Linked DNA regions of Homo sapiens: region 1 is linked to region 2. Evidence: promoter capture Hi-C in human tissues and cell types (Jung and others, 2019). All regions are on one chromosome and are shown on one strand. The core of a region is centred on a gene start or on the middle of the fragment in contact, and the rest is flanking DNA. Distances in the headings are between cores, read along the strand shown. Region 1 overlaps LOC105375607 (a long non-coding RNA gene). Region 2 holds the start of MNX1 (motor neuron and pancreas homeobox 1).

The links. Contacts are between HindIII fragments. The study calls those that stand out against the background at their distance.
Region 1: a contact is called between a fragment that was not itself captured here and the fragment with the promoter of MNX1 in region 2, in 2 of the 25 tissues and cell types used here (H1 embryonic stem cells and IMR-90 fibroblasts).

What each region holds. Positions count from the first base shown.
Region 1 is chr7:157,118,835-157,124,835 of GRCh38, reverse strand. LOC105375607 (a long non-coding RNA gene) reads right to left here. Exons shown (of 5, transcript XR_928261.2): 3 at 5,864-5,984; 4 at 4,340-4,443; 5 at 827-1,624. Among named protein-coding and RNA genes, the nearest start is that of UBE3C, 17 kb to the left of the region's middle. The HindIII fragment of the contact is 4,704 bases long and covers 1-4,030 here.
Region 2 is chr7:157,009,257-157,015,266 of GRCh38, reverse strand. It overlaps MNX1 (motor neuron and pancreas homeobox 1), which reads left to right and starts at 4,604. Exons shown (of 3, transcript NM_005515.4): 1 at 4,604-5,607. The coding sequence starts at 4,917. MNX1-AS1 (MNX1 antisense RNA 1 (head to head)) reads right to left here and starts at 4,410. Exons shown (of 2, transcript NR_038835.1): 1 at 3,960-4,410. RefSeq lists silencers at 4,193-4,802, 5,313-5,382, 5,393-5,442. The HindIII fragment of the contact is 12,613 bases long and covers 861-6,010 here.

The sequences.
Region 1 (6,001 bases), core at 429-2,928, 110 kb before region 2:
CAACTTCATCTGCCACGTGGGCAGGATGCCCCACGAGGTGGAAGGCATAGGCCTGGCCGGGCTCCATTCTTGAGGGCTACATTTTAGTGATACAAACGCTGAATGAGCCCGGTCATTTCAGACCAGCGTTACTGACACTCAGCATCTGTACTCAAAGGGCATTTTGCTAAGTTCACAGGTTGAAAGAACTGCGATGATAAACAGTATGAAAACACCAAGTACTGATAACATGCTGCGGTTAACATTCTACTCTTCTCCGCATTATCATCACCATCATTTTAATCATTTAAAAAGGTTAGACAATTAAGCGTGTGTTTGGCAGCCCTTCAATGTGTGGGAAGTAGGAGGCCAAATTGCAAGTGCTCCTTGTCGCCTTGGACAGCTCGAAGCTGCCAGGACAGTCAAGGAGAGTTCCTCCTCGCCAAGCGCGGAGCACCCTGTGTTTTGGGAAGATACACTTACACTTCTGCTCAAGGTCATCTACGAATAATCAAGTGTCGGAACATATAAACACAGCAGTGGAAAATCAAAGCTCCTCTTTACTGAGGATTCATATTTTGTCAGGTATGACACGACATGCCATATAGACTTTTTTTTTTTTTTTTTTTTGAGATGGAGTCTCGCTCTGTCACCCAGGCTGGAGTGCAGTGGCATGATCTCCGCTCACTGCAACCTCCGCCTCCCAGGTTCAAGCGATTCTCCTGCCTCAGCCTCCCGAGTAGCTGAGATTACAGGCGCCCACCACAATGCCCAGCTAATTTTCATATTTTTAGTAGAGATGGGGGTCTCACTGTGTTGCCCAGGCTGGTCTCGAACTGCTGACCTCAAGTGATCCACCCACTTCAGCCTCCCAAAGTGCTGGGATTACAGGTGTGAGCCACTGTGCGCGGCCCCATACGGACTTTTAAACTTATGTGCGTAGAGCAGTCCTATGAGGGAAACGTTATTACCCACATTTTACAAACGTGGAAACCAAAGCTTAGAAAGAAGCACCAGGCCTGGTGTCTCCCCCAAGATGCACCACTTTGTAACCTATGGTGGCCAGGGTTTAATTTCTAGCAACACAGATGAGGCTTTGCCTCAAAGATACCCACAAAACTTATTTTGTTTACTCTGGGGAAAAAAATGCTGTAAAACAAGCTGATGTAAAGACAGTATTGCAAAGAGCACTTCACTTAAGCACTTTCTGATAGTTAAACACCTGAGCAGTGCAGGCTGCCAAAGAGTGAAGACATTTCATTTAAAATTACACTGGCGCAAGACCATCAAAGTATCCTTAACATTTTCATTAAATTGAGATACAGATCTAGTTAGAGTAGTAAATCTCTTCCGATACAAGTTCATTGAAGAGCCATGGCTAGAGGCAGCAGCGGGCCTGAAATAATCACCAGCTGCAAGGAATCCAGAAGCACCCAAGGCCTGGCGCAGAGCTCTCCATGTGCTGTTGTGAGATCTATGCAGGTGGTGCCTCCCTGTGCCCTCACCATGGTGCACACTGGAGCAGCAAGTGTCCAGGGGGCAGCAGGGAGGGGGCGGCGGGGAGGACCAGGCCAGGCATCTGTTTGTCTGTCTTCAACAGGCTTGCTTATGGTTCAGCATGGTGAGGGCAACAGATCCAGGATGGCTGCCATTGAAAAGATGGCTTGTTACTCACAGATCCTGAGAGGAGGGCAGGTCGCACCACAGGGGCCACACAGGGATGCGCCAGGGTTGGTCGGGATGCTGGGGGGTGGGGGAACCGAGCAGGAGCCTCTATTGTGGTTTCCACAATAAGGGAGGCCAAGGCAGGGTCAGCAGGCCCAGGACTGCCCAGCTTGAATAATTACAGCCCTCTGGGGCCAGGGGCTGCCCCGCGTCTGGTCCCTACCCAGGGTTGACAAGTGTGGGTGAACAGTGGCCTGGGGTGTGAGCCCACAGAGGAGGTGGCAGGTGTGGGCTCTGCATTGCAGGGTTTGCACATGGAAAGCCTGCGTGGGGTGGGCAAGTGTTCGCTATCCAGGAACTGGCTGTTTGTGGGAGAGGCAGCCTCCCAGGGTCAACAGGCCCCAGGTGTCAGAGCATCAGATACAGAAAATAAACAACATAGTTACTACAGCATCAAAGGACCAAGGTTCAAATCTCAGGTACTGCCTGTATGAGCAAGTCAGGCCACCTCTGAGGTCTGTCTGCTCGTGTGTAACTCAGAGATGATCACACCAACCATTTGATTAGACAATTTGTTTTTCTAAATGTAGCTTAGTACTTGGCACATTATAGTTATTGTTAAATATTAGCCAATTAAATCTTATGGCATTTAAAATACTAGTTACAATCTCTTATCCAACATAGTTTGGACTAGAAGTTTCAGATTTTTATTTTTTCGGATTTTGGAATATTTGTAATAATGAGATATCTTGAGGGTGGGACCCAAATCTAAACACAAAATTCATTTATGTTTCATATACACCTTACACACATAGCTGAAGATAACTCGATGCAATACATAAACATAATTTTGTGCAGAACACAAAGTTTGCATTTTGACTGTGACCCATCACGTGAGGGCATGCATGAGATTCTCCCCTTGTGGCATCACGTTGGTGCTCAAAACGTTCTGAATTTTGGAGCTTTTCAGATTTGGGATTTTTGGATTAGGGATGCTCAGCCTGTATATGCACAGCTTCTCTGGCACTCTCTTCAAACGATGGAGCCTGGGCTGGGCGCAGTGGCTCATGCCTGTAATCCCAGCACTTTGAGTGGCCGAGGTGGGTGGATCACCTGAGGTCAGGAGTTCAAGACCAGCCTGGCCGACATGGTGAAACCCTGTCTCTACTAAAAATACAAAAATTAGCCAGGCTTGGTGTCAGGCACCTGTAATCCCAGCTACTTAGGAGGCTGAGGCAGGAGAATCACTCGAACCTAGGAGGTGGAGGGTGCAGTGAGCCAAGATCATGGCACTGCACTCCAGCCTGGGCGACACAGTGAGACTCAGTCTCAAAAACAAAGAAACAAAAGATGGATCCTGAAGCCAGGTGCCATGGCTTATACCTGTAGACTCAGCTACGTGGGCTGAGATGGGAGGCATCCAAAAGTCCAAGATCGGCCTGGACAACATGGCCAGACCCCATCTCAAAAAAAAAAAAAAAAAAAAAAAAAGATGGCGCCTATGCCCCTCCCCTGGAGCACAGGTTGGATTTAGCTGCTCTTTTCTGCTGAGTAGAAGAAACCTGGACTCCGCAGTGTGGGCCTCGGAGACACATTCACGCGAGGCACTCAGCTTCCTGTGTGCTCCCTCTCTTGGGTCATGCACCCTGGAGAACGCAAACACCACACAGGGAGCATACTCAGGCAGTGCACAGAGGGCCCCACGCGGCACAGAGCCGAGGCCTCCAGCTCCAACCCCCACAACGGGGCCATCCTGAGGTGGGCCCACCTGCCTCCGTTGAGCCTTTGGCAAATGCAGCCACAGCCGGCCTCTTGACTGCAGCCTCGCCAGAGGCCCTGAGAGAGAAGCACCCAGCGAAGCCATCCCCAAGCCCCTGGCCCGCGGCAGCCCCTGGCCCGCAGCAGCTGGGCACCAAATGTGTTTTGCTTTTGGGCCACCAAGTGCTGGGTAGTTGGTTGTGCAGCAGGGCCAGCGGGTCTAACCTCAGGAAAATCTCCAAGCTGGGCTCTGCCAGTACCATTTGCAGTGCTTAGGCCTGCATAGACAATCTCTAGAGAAGTTTCCAGAACCACTTTCTAGTCAGTTCCAGAGATTTCCAGACAGAGGTGCAGGGGAGTTAGAATCCTGCCCATCTGTGCTGTGCTCACCTGGATTGAAATGGCCGGTGGCTAAGAAGCTGGTGGAGGTGGCCACAGAGCCCTCTCGACCGCTGGGTCTGGGCGAGACGCACTTTTGCCTCCACACCTTACCCTGTGTCCCGCTGAACTATCTTGGAAGCCACATCGGGTGCTCAATGACACACATTTAAAGAACTGTTTAGTTATGAAAATCTCTTTTATGTCACCATGGCTTTAGTCCTAGTCGGTAGACACCTTCACTAGGAAGGCCGGCACGGTCATTGTGAACATGCAGCTTCCTCAAACTGCCGTTACAGAAACAAGGACCATGGATTTTACTTTCAAATTATCACCAGATCTCAACCGTTTTTCACATAAAGATCTTCCATTTCACTTAAAGCCTCAACCGTTTGTTATTAAAATGTACCTTCCTCTTCCTCTCCCTTGCCTTGCCTGTGATGCTTTTCCTCCCGAGAACCGCTGTGTGTGGATGCAGGAGCTCACGCTTCTTGACAGGAGCATGAAATTGTCAGGGCAGGCTACGTCATGCTCAGGTACAAACAACCCCTAGGTTTACCTGGTGCTAATGCAAGGTCTGCTGGGAGTCTGGACGGCTCTCTAGGACAGTGTCCGCCGCGGCCACTCGGCAGGTCAGCCTGCCCAGCTCTCGTGCCTCCATCTCTACAGTGGGGACAAGAACACGATGGTCTCAGGGTGATGAGAAGTGGCACACGGCCCTCCCACACAGGCCCGTTGGCAATCTTATCCCACGGTCCCTAGAACCACCCAACTGCCAGGACATGAAGACGTGGGATCATCTAGGGGCCCAGAAGAACAGGAGAAACAGACAGGAGGAGAAGGCAAAGACCCCACTCCAGGGCTGCCCGCACTCAGCAGACACACGTGGGCTGTGCGCCAGGAGCTGGAGACACAGCAACAGAGACAAGGCCCCTCTCCGTGTGATGCTTATGGCCAAGTGGCCGTCCACTGCTCCTTCTAACCTCCCAGCAACTGGTCCTGTTGATCAGACGGGCTGATCAACAAAGCTAAAATCTTACCCAATGGAGCAGTCACCACAGAAACTTCCCAGCTGGTATGAAGGGACCCTATCCGACTTCTCCCAACCCAGTGCCTCACGTATTAATAGAAAAGCAAGGGAAGGGATTGATTTAAATTTATGATGAAATATTTTGGACATACAAAATGACTAAAAGGATAAAATACCAAGTTCCAAGGACCCATTGCCCAATTTACAAATAAAACATGACCTTCTTTGATGCATCAGCCGCCTTCCCTGGAGAGCAGCCTCAACCCCAGTTCTGTTCCTCATTGTCAGGCATTAGAAGCAAGAGGGAAGTAGTTACCTCCTGGACTTAAATGATCAGTTGTATCAATTTGGTTTTGAAGTTTAAAATACTAAATTAAAATAATCATTCACATTTGTATAGAGCTTTACAGCTTACAAAATAATTTTACTTATATTTTCTCATTAATCCCTGTAATAATCCATCAAGCAGGTATTATCAAACCTGTGTTATAGTAAGAAAAGTAATATATATTTTTCATTTTAAAATTTTATTTTGTAGAGATGGATCTGCCTGTATTGCCCAGGCTGGTCTCCAACTCCTGAGCTCAAGTGATCCTCCCACCTCGGCCTCCCAAAGTGCTGAGATTACAGGTGTGAGCCACCATGCTTGGCCAAGCAATATTTAATCCCAGCACTTTGGGAGGCCAGGGCAGGTGGATTGCTTGAGCCCAGGAGTTCAAAACAAGCCTGGGCAACATGATGAGACCCTGTCTCTACAAAAAATATAAAAATTAGCTGAGTGTGGTGGTGCACACCTGTGGTCCCAGTTACTCAGACGGCTGAGGCTGGAGGATTGCTTGAGCCCAGGAGGTAAGGCTAGAGTGAGCTGAGACCATGCCATGACACTCCTAGGCGATAGAGTAAGACTCTGTCTAAAAAAAAAAGACAGTCTATTTCCCTCCATTTGAAGCTGCTTCTGTGGACTCAGGGGAAGATGCAGGTCATTTCCAAGGTCATCCCAAGGTCAGGTCACAGGAGCAATATGGCTTCCACCTGGTTTGTGCGAGCACTCACCTTCTTGCTTTCTTTCTCTCCCTTCCTCTGTCCCTTGGAACCCAGTCGTGTGCAGTGAGGCAGCCCCAGCTGCAGGCACAGATTACTGCAGGTGTTTCAGCGAAGGTCCAGGACACCTGGCCTGTGGAGTGGATGGGC
Region 2 (6,010 bases), core at 3,355-5,854:
CATAGAGCGGAGCACACAGCAGACCTGGGCCCACCTCAGGCCCCGCCTCGGTTTGAGGGTTTGAGCTGCAGGTCTTTGGGTTGCTAATCCTGAGCCTACCCTTTCCAGACTCCTTTAAGGCCCAGCTCCCAGGGGCCATAGAGGAGGTCAGCAGATCAAAGGACAGCATGAATGACTTGATGCCTTTGGCCCCCATTGCTCTGAAGGGGCTGGGGTTGGTGGGGGGACCTGAGCAGATGTCCCCAGCTCCGGTGAGCCTAGGCCCTCTCCACAGATTCTCCTTCCCTCTGAGCTCCAGGAAGGAGGTCGGAGCATCTCCCAGCAGTTCCTGCTCTGACCCTCTGGGCTCCCACTCCAGCCTAACTAAGCTACTTCCTGTGCCAGGGGCAAGTCCCATCTCAAACTCGTGCTTAGGTCCCTCCGGCCAGTTACACAGCATCTTCATGCCTGTTTCCTGAAGAAAGCCTTGACAGTTTACATTGAAACGGAACTGCATGAGTCCCCGAAGACCACATGGCTTCAGCAGGACAGGACTAATGTGCCTGGGCCCCTCTGCAGCCAAGTCCTCTCTGTTGGCCCTGGGCTTCAGTTTTGGAAATGCAAGATCTGCCCCCTGCTTCAGCCACCCAGTGCCCTTCCAGGCAACTGCTCCATTTCACATGGAAAAAAAGCAATATCTAAATGATAAATAAATGCATGATACCTGCCTCGCATCTTGTGAATATGTGAATGTACAGGTTTTTTCCCCAGTCCTCACGGGTTCCCAGTTGTGTGTGTAAGTCCAGATGTAAACAGACACAGACTACAACGGCGTTTTCTTTTGTGATGGTTTGTAGAAATCACCATCTCCTTCCCAAGTAGTGGAAGGAAGGGCAGCTGCAGGCACTCTTCAGTTCCTTAACAGGAGGCCTGTAGAAAGCAGGCTCCCGCGCTGGGCAGGGAGGAGCTGTGGTGGGGGCCAGCTGATTAGGGTGCACCAGGCCCTCTCTGCCTGTCTTGAGAAACCAAGAGCTCCAGGGAGAACTCTCCAGGGCTGAGTTCTGCCCCTGGGGCCGCTGGAGAGAAAACTCACCTGGAGACTCAGGTTTGGTAGCACTACTAGGATCAGACCTTTGATCTCTCTTTGTGGCCCTTCCCAAGACCCAAGCCCAGCTCCAGACTGCCCCAAAGCCAGCTGGGCTGGATCAATACAGATACTGGGAACAGGAAGAGACCCAGCAGGCTCCGCCTCACACATTGTAAACCACACAAAGATCCACACTTCCCAGATAGCTCCCTCTCTCCCCCACACCTGCCTCTCTCCATGCAGCTTTACAGAGAACCTCCTTTTTATATTAACATATTCTTAAATATAAGCAGAACATCTGATCATTTTAAGGCCCTATAGCTCCTTAGAGTCCATTTGGTCCAACCCCTGCTTCTGTAGACAAAGAAACAAATCCATCGAGATAAGGAGCTTCAGATTCCTGAAATGGCACCTCAGCCAGAGGGGCGGTCCGGACAGGACGCAGGGCTGCTAGGCTAGGCCTCCTCGGACAGCCTTGCACAGCCCCACAGGTGGTACAGACACCTGAAGGACCTGCACACGTGTTGTCCTGTCTGTGTTTTCAGGGAGGTGTCCTCAGCAGGTCTCAGGCAGAATAGAAACATGAGACAGGGTGTGAAGGGGTTTTGGACCATGGTTATTACAGAACAAAAAGGGGTGAAATTAATTCCTCTAGGAGTTAAAAAAAAAAGCCAGAAAACACCCACTGTGATTTTGTTGAAGGAGATGGCTGATGTCATGAGTCTAGACTACACACCCCATCACCAACTAAAATCACCCTGGCAGTGTGTATTTTTGGTTGGAGAGAGGAACAGCATCTTCTCCAAGGTCCATCCTGGGAGATTTCTTCTGCAGCCACTCCCTTCCCCCAGCTCCCTAAATCATTGACCTCAGGACCAAGCAATCTGCCCCCAGCAGATGGGGGTGATGAGAAGAGAAAGGCAAGTCAGCCTTGGTGCCAAACCCCTGGAGGAGGAGGCCAAGGCTGTGTTCTCTACCCTGGGGAGGCAGAGTCACAGCTAGGGCTTCCTGCCTGGGACAGGTGGCTAAGAATCTCTGGTCTCCTTTACAATCCTTCCCTCCCCAAAAAGAAACAGATGGGATGGGGACTCAGGGCTAGGTGTACCTGAAAGCTTTGAGGGCAGCAGGGTGGGAACAGTGTGGCCTCTGCAATCAGACCTGGTCCCACTCCCAGCTCTAAGGCCAAACTGTCTGCTGGGAACAAGGATCCCAAACTCTCTGAACTTGTACTCTAGAAAATGGAGATGATAGCCCGGGCACGGTCGCTCATGCCTGTAATCCCAGCACTTTGGGAGGCTGAAGTGGGTGGATCACCTGAGGTCGGGAGTTCGAGACCAGCCTGACCAACATGGTGAAACCCCATCTCTACTAAAAACACAAAAATTAGCCTGGCCTGGTGGCACATGCCTGTAATCTCAGCTATTGGGGAGGCTGAGGCAGAAGAATCGCTTGAACCTGGGAGATGGAGGTTGCAGTGAGCCATGATCATGGCATTGCACTCCAGCCCGGGCAACAAGAACAAAACTCCATCTCAAAAAAAAAAAAAAAAAGTGGGGGGCGCCTGGCGCGGTGGCTGACTCCTGTAATCCCAGCACTTTGGGAGGCCGAGGCGCGCGGATCAGGAGGTCAGGCGATCAAGACCATCCTCGCTAACACGGTGAAACCCCGTCTCTACCAAAAATACAAAAAAAAAAAAGAAAGAAAAGAAAATGGAGATACGGAGATGATAAAAATCTTCCTTCTAGTGTCATAGTGAAGATTACGGATGAGAATTGCAGAAAGCTCATAGCACATAGTAGGTGTTCAAGAAATGCGCGTGTTTCCCTCTCTCCAGTGAGAGGTAGAACTGCATTTGTGTCACCACAAAGACATCTAAAGGCACGACAAACTCCATGTGAATGCCTGGGATTTCTTTTTACCAGTGGTCGGCTCTGCAAAGCCAGATCACATTTACTCCAAGTTGCAGTTACTCATCCATTGCCATCCTCCTAACCTTCCAACCAGTCCTGTGCATCTGGGAACTACCCTGTGTTATAATGAAAACGATACCACTCATGGCAACAGAGTCACTGTCATCAACTCTCGCCTAGGTCAAAAGCCTTTTGAGGAGAAGTGGCAAGGTCTCTATATTTGCCTTTTTAAAAATCCCTCTTGTAGCAACCTGGCGTGCTAATTTTGAAGTTTACCTGGCACTGAGTTTCTCTTTGGCTCTCTCCCCTCTCCACAGCCCCTTCCGGTCCTTTATTCACCTCTCACCTGCATAGCAAGCCCTGGAACCTGGAACTCCCTCCCAGTTCTCACGCTTGCTGGGGAAGATAACTGGGTCTAATGGCGCTATTGACAAAGCCTGGTGTTGATGCCGCTTGACTTCCCGACCCCTGTGTGGATTCTTTCAGCTTCAAAAACGCCCTTGGAAGTGGTTTTACTGTAAATATTTGAAGTGTGCGTGTGGGGGAGGGGTGAGACCTGGATGCTCACTCCGTGCCTCGCTCACTCACGGGAAGCCCTTTCCTCTCCACTTCCCAGGAGGCCCCGGCAGCACGAGAGACATAGCCTTTCCCCGCTCCTGCCCGGGGACTGGCCGGGGGTCGCAGCGGCAGGGCTTCCGAAGGATGCCGGGCCCCACGGGTTTTTCAGGGCCGAGGTGTGTGGGCCTTGACTCCCGCAAGCCCATGGGCATCCCTCGGCAGCGAGGAAGAGCCTTGTCACCGAGGACCCGCTCCACTGAGCAGGCACGTGGGCGACGTCTGCAAGCCGACTTGGGTTCTGCAGGCCAGAGCGCCCAGATCTACCGTCTCCGCCTTGACTGGGGCAGGGGCTCCCAGAGAGGATTCGTGGAGGCCAAACTCACACTCACATGCGCGTTTACACCCCCACACCCCCGCACACACACCTGAAAATGCGGGGCCTTCCCATAGCAGATAAGGTTCGACCTGCAGAGCTTTGGCCACGGGGACAAAACCCTCCCCTGCTGCGCCCTGGAGGCCCGAGAGCAGGGAGGGCTTGGGAAACACCACGGTCTTCAGTGCGCTGCCGTCGCCTCGCAGAGCGGCCAGGTCTGCGCAGCGTGGGCGCTCAGGAGCGTGGAACCACCGCGCTCCGCAAGGCAGACGTGGACCCACTCCAGCGCCGACAAGGAGGCCGGAGAGGACGCGCGCAGCTGGCTCCAGGGACCAACCAAGTCCGGAGGGGCCCACGTGTCTCGGGAGCGGGTCTTGGGCCGCCGCGGGGCTCTCCAGGGGCCCGGGGGTTGCCAGTGCCCGCCGTCCGGCTCCGCACCCAGGGGAGGGCGGGCAGAGGCCCCAGGTTGAGCCTCGGAGTATCCACTCCCCGTTGGTGTCCCCGCCCGCCAGCGCCGCGCAACAGCCCGGGCTGCTTAGGACCTCGCGGCGCGGGGGCGGGGCGGCGGGCGGCCGGGACGGTGACAGGTGCGCCCCTCGGCCAATGGCGGAGCCCGCGGCCCTCCCCGGGCCCCCGCTGCGCGCGCCAATCGGAAGCCGCGCTGAGCTTCAAGTGCGCGGAGGGGCGCGGGTCCCCACCACGGCGGCAGCGGCCTCCGCGCGGTCGCCTGAGGGCTGCAGCGCAAAGAACCGGGCTCCCGGGCCCGGACGCGGGGAAGCACTCGCGTGGGAGTTTGTGCGAGCGCGGCCCGGGGCGGGGCCCGCACGGAGGAGGCGCCGGGACCATGGTCACCCTCGGCTGAGTTTCCGGCGGCGACTTTGATTATTGGCAAATAACCACCATAACAATACCGAGCCCCCGGGCTTGCACCGCACGCACTGACTCCGCGAGCCCGCACACGGCCGCGTCGCCCGCCACCGGGCCCTGAGCGCCAGCCCCAAACGAGCCGATGGAAAAATCCAAAAATTTCCGCATCGACGCCCTGCTGGCGGTGGACCCCCCACGAGCCGCCTCTGCGCAGAGCGCGCCGCTGGCCTTGGTCACGTCGCTCGCCGCCGCCGCATCTGGCACCGGAGGTGGCGGCGGCGGCGGCGGGGCGAGCGGCGGGACTAGCGGCAGCTGCAGCCCCGCGTCCTCGGAGCCGCCGGCTGCGCCCGCCGACCGCCTGCGCGCCGAGAGCCCGTCGCCGCCGCGCCTGCTGGCCGCGCACTGCGCGCTGCTGCCCAAGCCGGGCTTCCTGGGCGCGGGCGGCGGCGGCGGCGGCACGGGCGGCGGGCACGGGGGGCCCCACCACCACGCGCATCCGGGCGCAGCGGCCGCTGCCGCCGCCGCCGCCGCCGCCGCCGCCGCTGGGGGCCTGGCGCTGGGGCTGCACCCTGGGGGCGCGCAGGGCGGCGCGGGCCTCCCGGCGCAGGCGGCGCTCTACGGCCACCCGGTCTACGGCTACTCCGCGGCGGCGGCGGCGGCTGCGCTGGCGGGCCAGCACCCGGCGCTCTCCTACTCGTACCCGCAGGTGCAAGGCGCGCACCCCGCGCACCCCGCCGACCCCATCAAGCTGGGCGCCGGCACCTTCCAGCTGGACCAGTGGCTGCGCGCGTCCACCGCGGGCATGATCCTGCCTAAGATGCCCGACTTCAACTGTGAGTACCCTGCGGCCCCCGTGGATGCGCGTGGCGGGAGGGCCTCGCGCATCCTCCACCGGCACCGCCTGCCCCTCTCTGCGCTTGGCTCCCAGCGAGCGGGGGAAGAGCTGCGAAGCCGCCTCGGCTCTGCCCGGGGCCTGCGAGGACTCGCCCGGACCCCCAGGCATGAGACGGGCAGCGAATTATTAAAATGGCCATGCGCAGGCCTTGCCTTCTCTTCCTCTCTTAACGGGAAGGGGCAGTTGGAGGTGTGAGACTGAGATCTAATGATTAACCCGAAGGCTGCAGGAGAAGGAAGTCGCCGGGGGAAGGCGAGCCGAGAGCGCCCTGAATTAGGCAGGCCCGGGAATGGGGGTCAGGGCTTATCACCGGGGAAAGGAACTTGGGCCAGGTCCCCCAC